Linked DNA regions of Homo sapiens: region 1 is linked to region 2. Evidence: promoter capture Hi-C in 16 types of primary human blood cells and fetal thymus (Javierre and others, 2016). All regions are on one chromosome and are shown on one strand. The core of a region is centred on a gene start or on the middle of the fragment in contact, and the rest is flanking DNA. Distances in the headings are between cores, read along the strand shown.

Region 1 (7,125 bases), core at 4,006-6,505, 150 kb before region 2:
TGGGTCAGGCTGCCAGGAGCCATGGGATGCATCGTCCCTGCCCCAGGGTTAAGTGACTTGCTCACACTGCAGGTGAGCTGTGGAGGTGGGATGAGCCCCTCAGCTGAGCTTTCTGCACACACCAGGGCATGGCCCATTTCCTTGAGTGTGCAAGGGAGACAGGCATGCAGGTAATAATACATTCATTTATTCTTTCGACGGAAGGTAGACAGCCCCTCCTTTCTCCCAGGTGCCAAATCTGGTAGTGAACAAAACGAAGTCTCACGGAGCGTATGGTGTAGCGGGTGAGGAAGATGTTAACCAAATGCACACGTTACTATTGAATTCTATACAGCCATCAATGCTGTAGAGAGGGGAGGTTCACAGACGCTCTCTTTGGCCTTCCATGTGCAAGACACAAAGGAGGAATAGCAGTCCACTGCACAGAGTGGAGGCAGTGCTTCCAGGCAGGAGGGTCAGCACGTGCAAAGGGCTTGAGGTAGGAAGGGACTTGAAGGATCCAGTCGTGCAAGGGTGGTGGCCAAAGGAAGCCAGCTCATTCTAGGCAGAAGAGACACACAGAGGAGGAAAGGGGGGTGAGGATGGGGAGCCATGGGGCCTGTTTGCAGTTGCTGGAAGGAATGTAGTACAAGCATGTGGGAGGTACGGCCAAAAAAGCAAGTTGGGGCTAAACCCTGAATTGTTTGCAATGCAGGCTGAGGATGAGGTTTCCTGAGAGACACTGGGTAGCCATAGAAGGTTTGGAGGTAGGAGTATGCCAGGGTCCATGCTGCTGATCGGGAAGACTGTTTGGCACTGGACGTAGTCTCAAGCAGTTCGCCCATTAAAGCAAGAGGAAGTCCCCCAGAACTGTCCCACTTGCTCAGGAGGACGAAGAGTGCTGATGTCACAGGGTGCAGACTGAATGGGAGATGGCGCTGGTGGGCCCCTATCGCAAACTCTCACACCTGCAGAGGTCAGGCTGTTGCTCCTTGTGAGTCACCTGGGACAAGTCTGATGAAGAAGGGCGAGGGCACACACTACACTTCGCAAGGGTAGCGATGGCCGTTTCGAGGAGCATCAATGCCAGAGAACACTAGCATGATCTGAAAGAGTCCACGTTGCTGTATAGGCCCCTCTGGAACCTGCGTTTTTCATGACAGAGCTTTGATTCAAATGAGAAGCATTTTGCAGAACATCTCTTCAGAGTGGGGGTTGGCGGGGGGATACACATTTGGCATCAGCTTTTTTTCTGACAACAATTTGCTACTAGTAACCAAAGTAACAGAACCCAAAACCTAAAATAGCCTCTTCGGGCTGGGCACGCCAGAGCCTGTTCTTAGAAAGAAATGTTTCTAGGCTGTAGTCTGTCCCTGCAGTGAAATGCCAACCCCCGTGAAGTGAAGCTGAACTTTCATCTGAGATTGTCACAGAAGCTGCCCAGACACTTCCCCCAACCCAGGAGACTCCCCCAACTTCACTGCAATGAGGAATCCCCTCCCCCAACCCTAGCCACAAAAGGGTGTGTCCCCAAGGCCAGGATGGACACTCTCAGTGCTGGTACAGCTCAGAAAACAGTTGAGGAGGAAAAAGAAACCAACTCAGACCAGCCATTAGAAGAGACCAAGGGGAAATGAAATAAATGCTTTGTATCAACACGGGCCTGTGCACATTGCACCTAGACCACATCATCATCCCTGACTCCCCACGGCTCAAACAGCACATCAAATTCATCAGCAGTTTCCGTCAGCTCTTCCTGCAAAACACATTCAAGCCCGACCATATGTCACCACCCCCACTGCTATTCCCAGGTCCCAGCCACCATCATGTCTCACCTGGACTATTGCACGCACCTCCTACTTGGTCTCCCCACTTCTGCCCCGGCCGGGGCTGGTGTGTTCTCCACCCAGCAACACAGCAGTCAGAGGGATCCTCTTACAACATAAGTCAGATCACCTCACTCTTTGCTCAAAATCCTGCAATGGCTCCCATCTCCTTCAGAGTAAATTCCAAAGCCCCATATCTGCCCACTGCCCCCCACTCTAGAACCTTCCCTCCTGTTGTTCTTCCCCTGGTTCCCTCCATTCCAGCTACAGGGATCTCCTTGCTGGCTCCTGAGCTTACCAGGTATGGTGCTGCCTCAGGGCCTTTGCACTTGCAGTGACTGCTGCCCAGTAAGTTTGGTAAGGTTGGTCCCCAGACATCCACACCGCCCTCTTCTGCACCTCCTGCTCAGATGTCACTTTCTCAATGTGGCTTTTGCTATTTAAAACTGCACCCCTTTAAATTGTACCCAGTTTAAAACTGTACCCCCTACCCTACCCTCCTGATGGAGTTTGGATATTTGTCCCCTCCAAATCTCATGTTGAAATGTGATCCCTGTCAGGTGTCATGGTTCACGCCTGTAATTCCAGCACTTTGGGAGACCGAGGCAGGCAGATCACCTGAGGTTAGGAGTTCAAGACCAGCTTGGCCAACAGGGTGAAACTCCATCTCTACTAAAAATACAAAAATTAGCTGGGTGTAGTGGCAGGCGCCTGTGATCCCAGCTACTCAGGAGGCTGAGGCAGGAGGATTGCTTGAACTCGGGAGGTGGAGGTTGCAGTGAGCCGAGATCGCGCCACTGCACTCCAGGCTGGGAGACAAGAGCAAAAACTCTGTCTCAAAAAAAAAAAAAAAAGCAAGAACCAGCCCAGGGCTGAGTTATGAAGAGGGGTGCTGCAGACTAGGCCAGGTCCCCAACCTTGTCAGGTCTGCAATGCCAAGCTTCCAGACCTGATCACAAAGGAGTGGGACTCCAAGAAGAGCGCGATGGGATGTCTGGGTGAATGCACAGTCTCCACCTGTGGTTCCCCAGATTTACCTGGACACTCTGGGCCTGCAGAATTGCCCAAGTCCTCCCTCAGAGGATAACAGGCTCTCTCCTTGCCTAAAGATGATACCGCGGCCTTCAACGTGGAAGACCAAACATCCTGCCCTCCGAATCCACCTATAACCTGTGCCGCCCACCAGATTCATCACTGGGGTTAAGCCACAACCACACCCACCTGGGGACATGCTGGGCCAGCCAGGGAGGACAAGACTACACCCCAAAGGAGCTATGGACCCAGCCAGCACGGAGCAGTGGGGGTGGGACAGTGCTCTTGGGACCGGATCAAGGGCAGGAGGAGCTCATGAAATGGGGGACTTCTCCCATTGTTATGGACTCAATTGTATTCCCCAAAAAAATTCATAGATGGAAGCTCTAACCTCCAATGTGACTGTATTTGGAGATAGGGCCTATAAGGACGTGATTAAGGTGAAATGAGGTCATCAGGGTGAGACCCTAACCTGATAAGCCTGGTATCCTTAGAAAACAAGGAAAAGACACCAGATCTCATTCTCTCTCTCTCTCTCTCCCTCCCTCCCTCTTCCTTCCCTCCCCCTTCCTCCTGCCTTACATGCACAGAGGAAAGGCTATATGAGGACACAGGGAGAAGAGAGCCATCTACAAGCCAAGAAGCGAGCCCTCTCCAGAAACCGATCCTGCTGGTACCTTGATCTTGGACTTCCAGCCTCCAGAACCAGGAGAAAATAAATGTCTGCTGTTTAAGCCGCTCAGTCTGTGGTTTCTTCTTATGGCAGCCCGAGATGACTAACACACCAGTCATGCCGGATTTAACAGCAGGAGACAGTGCTAACGCACTGCTGAAGTGGCTCTTGAAACTTGGAGAAAGATGGCAGATGACAGAAGAAGGGATCAAAAGACAGAGAAGTGGGCATGGACCGGAGCAGGCAGAAAACCCACTGGGTGACAGCGTTCCACAAGACACCACCAAGGACGTCCCACTGACCCAGCACCGGCTTCACCAGGTAGCTCAGGGATGGGGCTGTCCACCATAGGCCAGGGTGGGTGGTGGGAGGTGCCGTTACAGAACCAGGTTTGCTGAGAGAGCTGGGAATAAGAGGATCCAGAAATAAGGGGCTAGGAGCCTGCACCAAACCACTGGAAGCAAGGTCAGTGCAATCACTTTAACAAGCACCAAGGCTGGAACACAGTGAGGTCCACGGCGAGCCATGGAGATGCTTGATAGAAAACGGCACCTGGCCGGGTGTGGTGGCTCATGCCTATAATCCTAGCACTTTGAAAGTCTGAGGCAGGTAGATCACCTGAGGTCAGGAGTTCAAGACCAACCTGGCCGACATGGTGAAACCCCATCTCTACTTAAAAAAAAAAAAAAATTAGCCAGGCCGTGGTGGCTGGCTCCTGTAATCCCAGCTACTCGGGAGGCTGAGGCAGGAGAATTGCTTGAACACAGGAGGTGGAGGTTGCAGTGAGCCATGATCATGCCATTGCACTCCAGCCTGGGCAACAAGAGTAAAACTCCAAAAAAAAGAAAGAAGAAAGAGAGAAAGAGAGGAAAGAAAGAAAGAAAGAAAGAGAGAGAGAGAGAGAGAGAGAGAAAGAAAGAAAGAAAGAAAGAAAGAAAGAAAGGAAGAGAGAGAGAGAGAAAGAAAGAAAGAAAGAGAGAGAGAAAGAAAGAAAAGAAAAGAAGGAAGGAAGGAAAGAAGGAAGGAAGGAAGAAAGAAAAAGAAAGGAGGGAGGGAGGGAGGGAAGGAAGGAAGGAAGGAGATGGAAGGAAGGAGAAGGAAGAAAGGAAGGAGAAAGATAGAAAGAAAGAAAGCGAAAGAAAGGAAGGAAGGAGATGGAGGAAGGAAGGGAGGAAGAAAAGAGAGAGAGGAAGGAAGGAGAAAGAGAGACGAAAGAAAGGGAGGGAGGGAAGGGAAGGGAAGGAAGGAAGGAATGAGATGGAAGGAAGGAAAGAGAGAAAGGAAGGAAGGAGAAAGGAGAGAAAGAAAGAAAAAGAAGGAAAGAAAGAAAGAAAGAAAGAAAGAAAGAAAGAAAGAAAGAAAGAAAAAGAAAGAAAGAAGGAAGGAAAGAAAGAAAGAAAGAGGCAAGATAGATGGATGGCTGACACAGGTGAGACTTGGCCCATCCTCTCTGGACAAATCAAGGCAGATGGGGTTAGGAAGTTGAGGGTAGCCACCCAAAGATAAATCCTGATCCCTTGCCCAGTGTCCAGACCTGAGCCAGTTTTCAAGTCCAGATCCCATCCACTGAAAGGAAAAGCGTGTTTCCAGGAAGAAGGACTCTGCAACATCGTAACAAAGGCCTATGGGAATCCCCTACTCCTTCCCCAACAGGACTGATGCTCATTGACTCAGGTAACCAGACACTAGGGAAAAATACCCAAATATTTCAAGAAATGTGGCTGAAAGCAGCAATAGACGTTTATGATCATCCCGGTGTCTGCAGGTGAAGAATCCAGGGTGGCTTCGCTGTGTGTTGTGCCTTGTGGGCCTCCCTGAGGTTGCAGTCAGGATGTCCTCTGGAATGGCTGGGCCTGGGCTGGAGGGCCTGCTTCCAAGGCACTCACACCCGGGCTGGCAAGACAGTGCCGGCTGTTGGTGGGAGGCCTCTGTTCCTCTGTAGATGGGCCTCTCCACAGATGGCTTGAGAGTCCTCATGACATGGTGGCCGGCTTGCTCCAGTATTAGAGCCCCAAGCGAGGGTGTAACATCACATCAGGCCAAGGGCTCCACTTCACAGCAAAAGAGGTGCAACCGCAGGCACACCCATGGTGTCTAGTGGTCCTATTATGTGCTGTACAACCCAGAGGCTGCTGGCTGATGGGGAAATGGAGTGGCCAGTTGAAGGCTCAGCCACAGCACCAGCTTGGAGGTGCCACCTGTGAAGCAAGGGCACCATCCTCCAGGGTGTATGTACATCCCAAGTCAATGACCAGTACACGATGTCCCCAGTGGGTAAAATACCTGGGCCTAAGAACCAAAGAATGGAAGCAGGAATAGCCTAATTTAGCATCACTCTCAGTGACCTACTTGGAGAATATGTGCTTCCTGTCCACACAACTACAGATTCTGTAGGTTCAGAGGTTCTGGTTTCCAAAGGGGAATGCTTCCACCAAGCGACACCAGTCACGCCAGGCTACTCATGTCAAGACACCAGTAGGCAGGGGAAGAGTCACCCATCGAGCAGGGGCAGTTGACCTGAACCATCAGAGGAGGTAGGGTTGCTGTCACACAATGGAAGCAGAGAAGACTGTGTGCCACCCACATGGGTGTCCCTCAGGACTCTTTCACCTGATGTAGTCAGCAAATAGGCAAGTGAGCAGCTATGGCTCAAGAAGGGAATGGTCACCAGGGGCTCATCCTCGTTGGTGAGGATCTGGGGCAACCCACCAGGTAAGCTATCTAGTCCAGCATGGGTCTAGCTGAGGGTGAAAGGGATCTGAATGAATAATCCAGGAGGGGGTTGTGAGTATCACCTTCAAGCCTGAGACTAGCTGCAGCAAGAGCTCACGCAAGAGCCTTGAGGAAAGTACAAATGAAACCCTACACAGCTGTGATACAGTGGGCAGGAGAGAAAATGACATGAGGTCTCACATGTTGTTGTAGTCAGATGGGGGGCTGGAGCTGAAACAGCATGGTGATCTTGAGCTGCTCCCTGTGGTCTGCCCCATGTGGGCTGGTTGGGCTTCCTCACAGCATGGTGGCCTCAGGGTAGTTGGACTGCTGACAGGGCAACTCAGGCCTCCAGGCACGAGTGCTCCAGTGAACATGGATGTCATGGAAGTCACACAGTACAACTTTCACTACATTCTCTTTGTAACAAGTGTGTCACAAGCCCGCCCATGGGCCAGGCACAGTGGCTTATGCATGTAATCCCAACACTTTCGGAGAATCCCTTGAGGCTAGGAGTTTGAGACCAGCCTGGGCAACATAGAGAGATCTTGTCTACAAAAAAGAAAAGAAAAATTAGTTGGGCATGGTGGCATACACCTATAATTTCAGCACTTTGTGAGATGGTGGTGGGAGGATGCCTCGAGCCCAGGAGTTCAAGATCAGCCTGGGCAACATAACGGGATATTATATCTAAAAAAAAAAGAAAAAAAAAAGTTTTCATTAGCCAGGCATGATGGCACATACCTGTGGTCTCAGCTACTCAGGAGGCTGAAACAGGGGGATCACGTGAGCCTAGGAGTTTGAGGCTGAAGTAAGTTAGGAGTCCACCACTGCACTCTGGCCTGGGCAACAGAGCAAGACTCTATCTCTAAAAAACACAAAAATTAATAAAATAAAAAACAA
Region 2 (7,829 bases), core at 3,027-5,526:
CCAAATGTTCATCAGCAGGAGAATAAATAAATAAAATGAATAAATAGTAGCATATTCCTTCAGTGGTTTATTATTGCATAACCAGTTAACCCAAAATTTGGCAGCTTTAAAACATTTATTATCTGTCATAGTGCATTTAGGCTGCTCTAACAAAATGCCATAAGGTGGGCAGCTTACAAAAGAAATTTATTTCTCACAGTTCTGGGGGATGGGAAGTCCAAGATCAAAGTGCTAGTAGATTCTGTCTGGTGAGGGCTAGTATTTTGGTTCATAAACCGTTCCTTCTTGCTGTGTCCTCACAGGATGGAAGGAGCAAGGGGTCTCTCTTATGCATCCTTTTTTTTTTTTCTTTTGGAGATTGAGTTTCACTCTTGTCGCCCAGGCTGGAGTGCAGTGACACAATCTCTGCTCACTGAAACCTCTGCCTCCCGGGTTCAAGCGATTCTCCTGCCTCAGCCTCCTGAGTAGCTGGGATTACAGGTGCCTGTCATCACGCCTGGCTAATTTTTGTATTATTAGTAGAGATGGGGTTTCACTATGTTGGCCAAGCTGGTCTTGAACTCCTGACCTCAGGTGATCTACCCGCCACAGCCTCCCAAAGTGCTGGGATTACAGGCATGAGCCACCGTGCCCGGCCCTCTTATACATCTTTTGTGTATTTACTTGTAGACAAAGTCTTGCTCTTTTGCACAGGCTAAAGTGCAGTGGAATGAGCATAGCTCACTGTTTCAAACTCCTGAGCTCAAGTGATCCTCCAGCCTCCACCTCCTGAGTAGCTGGGGCTACAGGCACATGGCACCACACCCAGCTTTAAAAAAAATTTTTTTTAGAGACGGGGGTCTTGCTATGTTGCCCAGGCTGGTCTCAAACTCTTAGCCTCAAACAATTCTCCTGCCTCTTCCTCCCAAAGTGTTGGGATTACAGGCATGAGCCACTGCAGCTGGCCTTATATCCTTTATAAGGGTACTAGTCACATTCATGAGGGCTCTGACCCCATGACCAGATCACTTCCCAAAGGCCCCATCTCCTGATATCATCACTGTGTTAGGCTGTTCTCACATTGCTATAAAGGAATATCTGAGACCGGGTAATTTGTGAAGAAAAAAGGCTTAATTGGCTAAGGGTTCTGCAGGCTCTACAGGAAGCAGGGTGCTGGCATCTGCTTGGTTTGTGGGGAGGCCTCAGGAAACTTACAATCATGGCGGAAAGCAAAAGGAGAGCAGGCATGTCACATGACCAAAGCAGGAGCAAGAGGTGACAGGAGGTGCCACACACTTTAAATGACTAGATCTCACGAGAACTCACTCATCACAGGAACAGCACAAACGGGATGGCGCTAAACCATTCATGAGAAATCTGTCCCCATGACCCAGTCACCTCCCACCAGGCTCCAGCTCCAACACTGGAGATTACATTTCAACATGAGATTTGGGCAGGACATCCAAACCCTATCAATCACCTTCTGGGGTAGAATTTAAATATATGAATTTGGATGTGAGGACACAAATATTCAGACCATAGCATTATCTTATGTCATTTCAGTTTAGTATCTTACATGAGGTTGCAGTCAACCTATCAGCTGGGGCTGCAGTCATTTCTGAGTTTGAATGAGGATGGAGCATCCCCTTCCAGGATGACTTACTCATGTAGTTGTTGGAAAGAGGCTGTTTTTCCCTAGCTGTTGGTCTCAGTTCTTTGCTATATGGGCTTCTCCATGGAGCTGCTCACAACAAGGCAGCTGGTTTCCCCAGAGCAAGTGGTTTGTGAACCCCCAATATCTGAGACAGGTCTCAGTTCATTTAGAAAGTTTATTTTGCCGAGGTTGAGGATGTGTGCCCGTGACACAGCCTCAGGAGGTCCTGATGACATGTGTCCAAGGTGGTCAGAGCACAGCTTGGTTTTATACATTTTAGGGAGACATGAGACATCGATCAACATATCTAAGATGAACGATGGATTGGTCCGGAAAGGTGAGACAACTCAAAGCAAAGGCAGGACAACTTGAAGCGGGGAGGGGGCTTCCAGGTCTTGGGTAGATGAGAGAAAAATGGTTGCATTCTATTGAGTTTCTTTTTTTCTTTCTTTCTTTTAAAATTTTATTTATTTATTTATTTATTTATTTTGAGATGGAGTCTCACCCTGTCGCCCAGGCTGGAGAGCAGTGGCGTGATCTCGGCTCACTGCAACCTGCGCCTCCCAGGTCCAAGCAATTCTTCTGCCTCAGTCTCCCAAGTAGCTGGGATTACAGGTGTGTACGACCACAACCGGCTAATTTTTGTATTTTTAAAAGAGGGTTTCACCATGTTGGCCAGGCTGGTCTTGTACTCGTGATCTCAAATGATCCACCCACCTCAGCCTCCCAAAGTGCTGGGATTACAGGCGTAAGCCACCGCGCCCAGACATTTTGAGTCTCTGATTAGCCTCTCCAAAGGTGGCAATCAGATACGCATTTATCTCAGTGAGCGGAGAAGTGACTGTGAATAGAATGTGAGGCAGGTTTGCCCTAAGCAGTTTCCAACTTGACTTTTCTTTTAGCTTAGTAATTGTAGGACCCCAAGATTTATCTTCCTTTCGCAGGTTGGAAGGAAAGAGATGCCACACTACCTTTCATGAACTAATGTCCAAATCATACATCATCACTTCTGTGTTTTTCAGTTTATTATGAGCAAATGAAGTCACTAAGTCCAGTACATACTCGACAAGAGGGAATACACAAGAGTGAGAATACCAGGAGTAAGAAATCACTGGGAGTCATCTTGAAGGCTGGCTAGCAATCACAGTTTGCCCCCTGACTACCAATTCTTCATGCCATTTTAACGTGCTAACCACACTCCCCTCTATCCAAGGTCCCCAAAAGTTACATTTTTTTAAATCTCATGTAGTTTTAGGTATTACTATCCTATTGTCACATCAGCTTTAAGTCCAGAATTTTGTCTTCTCAATAAGATCAGATGTAGATGAGGCTTTCTGAGCTTAGTTCCTTAAATTCAGCTCCTAGAGTACAATTCTTCTTGATCTGTAGACTTTTGAAACTAAGGAGACAAGTTCTCTGCCCCCATGCCTGGAATATACAGTTGTGGGGCTGGCACAGGATAATCACTACAGACCTGTTCTGCTCCACTACGACTAGATTAGCCACTGCCACTCCTGTTCAAAAAGGGGGAAATTGGAAGTACAAACAAGTTGCCAGCCCACAGTAACTCTGCCATCCAGTCTCAAGGTCTAGGACTCCATGACTCCCAGTTCCACCATCTGGGCTCCTGGTTTCATGCCCTGAGTTATACTTCCTTTTTTGTGAAATGTGGCATGTGTTTGCCAATGAGTCTTTTTCTCAGTCTGATTCCTGCTTGTACAAGTTTGGGGAGAGGGGATCCAAAGGCCTGTTCCTTTCAGTCCAATCTGCAATGTTTGTGTCAATATAATTATCTTTAAAAAACTTTATAGGTCTCCTGTGAATCTCATCGGGGTTCACTCCGTTAAACAAAAGTGCTACCTACAAATCCCTTTGAGATAAGTCCATCTCTATCTTGGGCTTCTGCTAATACTGACGAACAAGCCTTAAGCCTTCTGGAGGCCTTGTGGTTTGACTGATGGACTCTGTGAGCCACACCATTAATCTCTTTAAGGAGCTGTTAGTCTAACTGAATGGTATTCTCAGGCACCGTCTTTGCTTTTTTTTTTGAGATTTTAAAGGATTTAACCGTCACATCTCAACTTCACCTTTGTTTTTTTCTGGCAGTACCCTGGATTTGATATTTGCTTGGAAACTATTACTATTTCTTAGTTTTACGCCATTTGCAATCAGGCGAAGCTGAGGACTTTAAAAATCATCCAAAGTCGTCAAGGTCCATCCCTTTTGTGTTTCGTCTTGCTTATCTCATTTATTTTACTATAAACAGCAAAAAGAAATGAAGGACAGGAGGGAGACGTTCATGGGTGCTGGACATGTCCTACCTGTTGGTCTGGATAGAAGATGCATGGTTGTATGGATGTGTACAAAGTCATCAATGTGCACACTTAAAATGTATGCACTGTATTGTATTCCTGCTATACCTTCGCTTAAAAAAGAAAAAAAAGGTTGAATGTGAGTTCGGGCGTGAGAAAACAGCAGCGCGCATGCGTGAGCGTGAGCGCGCATGCGTGAGCGTGAGCGCGCTGGGAGGCCGGAAACAAAGGTGGATGCGCGTGAACAGACGCCCTCGCAGGCCGCCGGAAGCAAAGGCGTGAGCGCGCGTGCGTGCGTGTGCGGGTGCGTGAGCGTGAGCGCGCGGAGGCCGGAAGCGAGCGCTGCGCAGTCGGGTGGTCGCGGGCCATGGAGGGTAGCTTTTCGGATGGCGGAGCGCTGCCGGAGGGGCTCGCGGAAGAGGCCGAGCCGCAGGGCGCCGCCTGGAGCGGGGACAGTGGCACTGTTTCCCAGAGCCACAGCAGCGCCTCGGGGCCGTGGGAGGACGAGGGCGCGGAGGACGGCGCGCCGGGCCGCGACCTGCCGCTGCTTCGCCGCGCCGCTGCGGGCTACGCCGCCTGCCTGCTGCCCGGGGCCGGGGCGCGGCCCGAGGTCGAGGCCCTGGACGCGAGCCTAGAGGACCTGCTTACCAGAGTGGACGAGTTCGTGGGCATGCTGGACATGCTTCGCGGCGACTCGTCCCACGTCGTCAGCGAGGGCGTGCCGCGCATCCACGCGAAGGCCGCCGAGATGCGGCGCATCTACAGCAGGATCGACCGGCTGGAGGCCTTCGTGAGGATGGTGGGGGGCCGCGTGGCCAGGATGGAGGAGCAGGTCACCAAGGCCGAGGCCGAGCTGGGCACCTTCCCCAGGGCGTTCAAGAAGCTCCTGCACACGATGAACGTGCCCTCGCTCTTTAGCAAGTCTGCTCCCTCGAGGCCACAGCAAGCCGGCTACGAAGCCCCCGTCCTGTTTCGGACCGAAGACTACTTCCCTTGTTGCAGTGAAAGGCCTCAGCTCTGACGGCCTGACCACTGCGGCAAGAGGACCCCAGCTGGGGTGCTTACCTCCAGTATGAAGTGAATTGCAAATCCTGCTTATGGACATATATGATGTTGGAGTGTGGGATTTTAAAGTTTACTTTCTACAAACTCTCCGTAGTATATTCATGATTCAGTGTAGAATGTATAGACTTTATGTCTTCCAAGTTTAAAAAAAGAGACAGGGTCTTGGTATGTTGCCCAGACTGTTCGGAAACTCCTGGGCTCAAGTGATCCTTCCACCTCAGCCTCCCCAGTAGCTGGGACTACGGGGTCGCCACTGCACCCAGCCTGTGTCTTCCAGCTCTAATCAGAAAGCTGCTTGTCGAGGGCATGGGGAATCAAACTGAATGAACTTTTCTCTGCACTGTGGCAAAACTGTTATTTTTATGGATTTTACTAAATGGCGTTACCTTTTCAAGATTTATATGTTTGTATAATCATAAGAAAATTGAGCCATTAAAGCCTTGTTATTCAATCCTAATAGTCAGTTTTCTAGAACCTACTTTTAGGGTAAATGGTACATTATTTAATATTATATTAAACCTCCTATAGCGTGGATTGTAGACCAAAGGAAATGGTACAATTTCTGAGAATATATGTTGATTTTTTGTGACTAATTCCAAAGTTGTATTTGAAAGTATGACCTCACAGTCTTCATTTGTCCATAGCAAACATATGTGTGTGTGTGTGTATATATATATGTGGGTTGCCAATGTTTGGTTTATAATTTAAATGTTAATAGAAATTTTGAGTTTTATTGGAAATGATTTCCTTCTGAAAAGAGCTTTACGTATTTCCTTGTGTGTGTTTGAAATAGACGTACTGCTCATGTGCTTTTTTAGTAGTGGGATAAAGAAAAGGGGCTTGAGTATACCTCCTTTAGAGAGCTAATGTGAAAAGCTGTAGCTTCTATTTCAGAGCATGGTATATTTCTTTTCTTTTTTTTTTTTTTTTTTTTTTTTGAGACGGAGTCATGCTCTGTCGCCCAGGCTGGAGTGCAGTGGCGCAATCTCGGCCCACTGCAAGCTCCGCCTCCCGCGTTCACGCCATTCTCCTGCCTCAGCCTCCTGAGTAGCTGGGACTACAGGCGCCTGCCACCATGCCCGGCTAATTTTTTTTGTATTTTGTATTTTTTTTTAGTAGAGACGGGTTTTCACTGTGTTAGCCAGGATGGTCTCGATCCCCTGACCTCGTGATCCACCTGCCTCGGCCTCCCAAAGTGCTGAGATTACAGGCGTGAGCCACCGCGCCCGTCCAGAGCATGGTATATTTCTTTCCTCTCGAAATGGATAGTTAAATTATTTGTGTGAGTGAATGGTATTAGGATTTTCCTGCGGATACAGTAGACTTTTATTGAGATTCAAATCTATTTTATAAGGTGGCCCTCCTAAATAGTAGATGCTAAAAAAGCATACAGCTTAGGTTGCTTTTGTGTCATTTGCAGTGTCATCAAAGATCTTTGAGGTTCATAGAGTAGCTGTATTTTCATTTAGCTGTGTGTTGTGAAGAATCTGATCATGTAATCTTGCACCTAGCTTTCGTGGACCTTCATTGTCACATATTTACGTTTTTTATTCAGGTGGTTCATTGACGACAAATTAAGGAACTCTGAATGTAGAAGCTGAAAGAACAAGTAACCTACATTTAATATTCAGCAACTGCTGGTACCCCTATAAGTAATTCATGTGTTTCGATGACATAGTCACTGAATATGAAAATATCCTTACATAACAAAACATTGCTAAAAGATTTTTCACTTAAAGTTAACATTCAAAAGCAGTAATTAGGGGCCGGGCGCGGTAGTTCACAAGCACTTTGAGAGGCTGAGGCAGGCGGATCACAAGGTCAGGAGATCGAGACCATCCTGGCTAACATGGTGAAACCCTGTCTACTAAAAATACAAAAAAAAAAAAAAAAAATTAGCCAGGCATGGTGGTGGGCGCCTGTGGTCCCAGCTACTCAGGAGGCTGTGGCGGGAAAATGGTGTGAACCCGGGAGTCGGAGCGGAGATGACGCCACTGCACTCCAGCCGGGGCGACAGAGCAAGACTCTGTCTGAAAAAAAAGAAAAAAGAACTAATATCCACCTATCCACCTTGGCACTCCCACAATGCATATTCCCAGTGCTCTGTCCATCCCCACTGCTACCCAACCCATCCAAGCCACTGGCATCTCTCCTGGGCCACTCAACAGCCTCTTAAGTGGTCTCCTGCTTCCCCTTCCCCGCTCCAAGCCACTCCCGCATGTAACACATCAGCCAAAGGGGTCTTTAAACAACATAAATCAGACATATTGGGCTTTGCCTAAAGCTCTCATTAGCTTCTCTTCATATTAGAATAAAGCCCAATTTCTGTTCTCTGGCTTGAGGTGGCTCCTGCCCCCTTGCTCACTCCCCTGCAGCCTTCCCTTGACCTCGAAAGATGCCCCATAGCATCTTTCATATGAGGATATGGAAAGGGGACATATGAACTGTCCCCTTCATAGCGCTTGTTACAGTTTGTGAAATGTGTTTGTGTCATTATCTGATGACTGTCTGCCTTACTCACCTGGAGTAACAAGTGGATGTTAGCTGCATCCACTTGGCTGCATGCTCAGCAAGCAGGTAGCACATCCCTGGTACACTCACATATCTGTGCAATAAGCGATTGTCAGAGTGACTGAGTGAATGAACGACTACACAAAATGTAGGCACTCCATAAGGAATGCGAGACAGAAAGGCAGACAGGAGAATTCAGTCAGACTAAGGGCTGGCTCAGAAATCAAGCACCATGGGAAGACTAGGACACAAAGAAAAACAAGATGTGATTCTTTCCCAAGAGCTGGGCAGGCCAGTGGGTGAGAAAG

Evidence for each region. The method cuts DNA at HindIII sites, captures the fragments that hold promoters and counts their contacts. A CHiCAGO score of 5 or more calls a contact.
Region 1: a fragment that was not itself captured here is called in contact with the fragment with the promoter of BLOC1S4 in region 2 in 2 of 17 cell types (neutrophils and megakaryocytes); the score reaches 5.9 in neutrophils.

What each region holds. Positions count from the first base shown.
Region 1 is chr4:6,565,295-6,572,419 of GRCh38, forward strand. LOC105374365 (a long non-coding RNA gene) reads left to right here and starts at 3,435. Exons shown (of 3, transcript XR_925098.3): 1 at 3,435-3,831. The HindIII fragment of the contact is 5,024 bases long and covers 2,744-7,125 here.
Region 2 is chr4:6,711,898-6,719,726 of GRCh38, forward strand. BLOC1S4 (biogenesis of lysosomal organelles complex 1 subunit 4) reads left to right here and starts at 4,277. Exons shown (of 1, transcript NM_018366.3): 1 at 4,277-5,767. The coding sequence starts at 4,313. The coding sequence ends at 4,966. LOC105378240 (a long non-coding RNA gene) reads left to right here. Exons shown (of 3, transcript XR_001741568.3): 2 at 1,914-1,970; 3 at 2,127-2,248. RefSeq lists enhancers at 3,997-4,196, 4,679-5,318 and a silencer at 4,477-4,526. The HindIII fragment of the contact is 17,705 bases long and covers 1-7,829 here.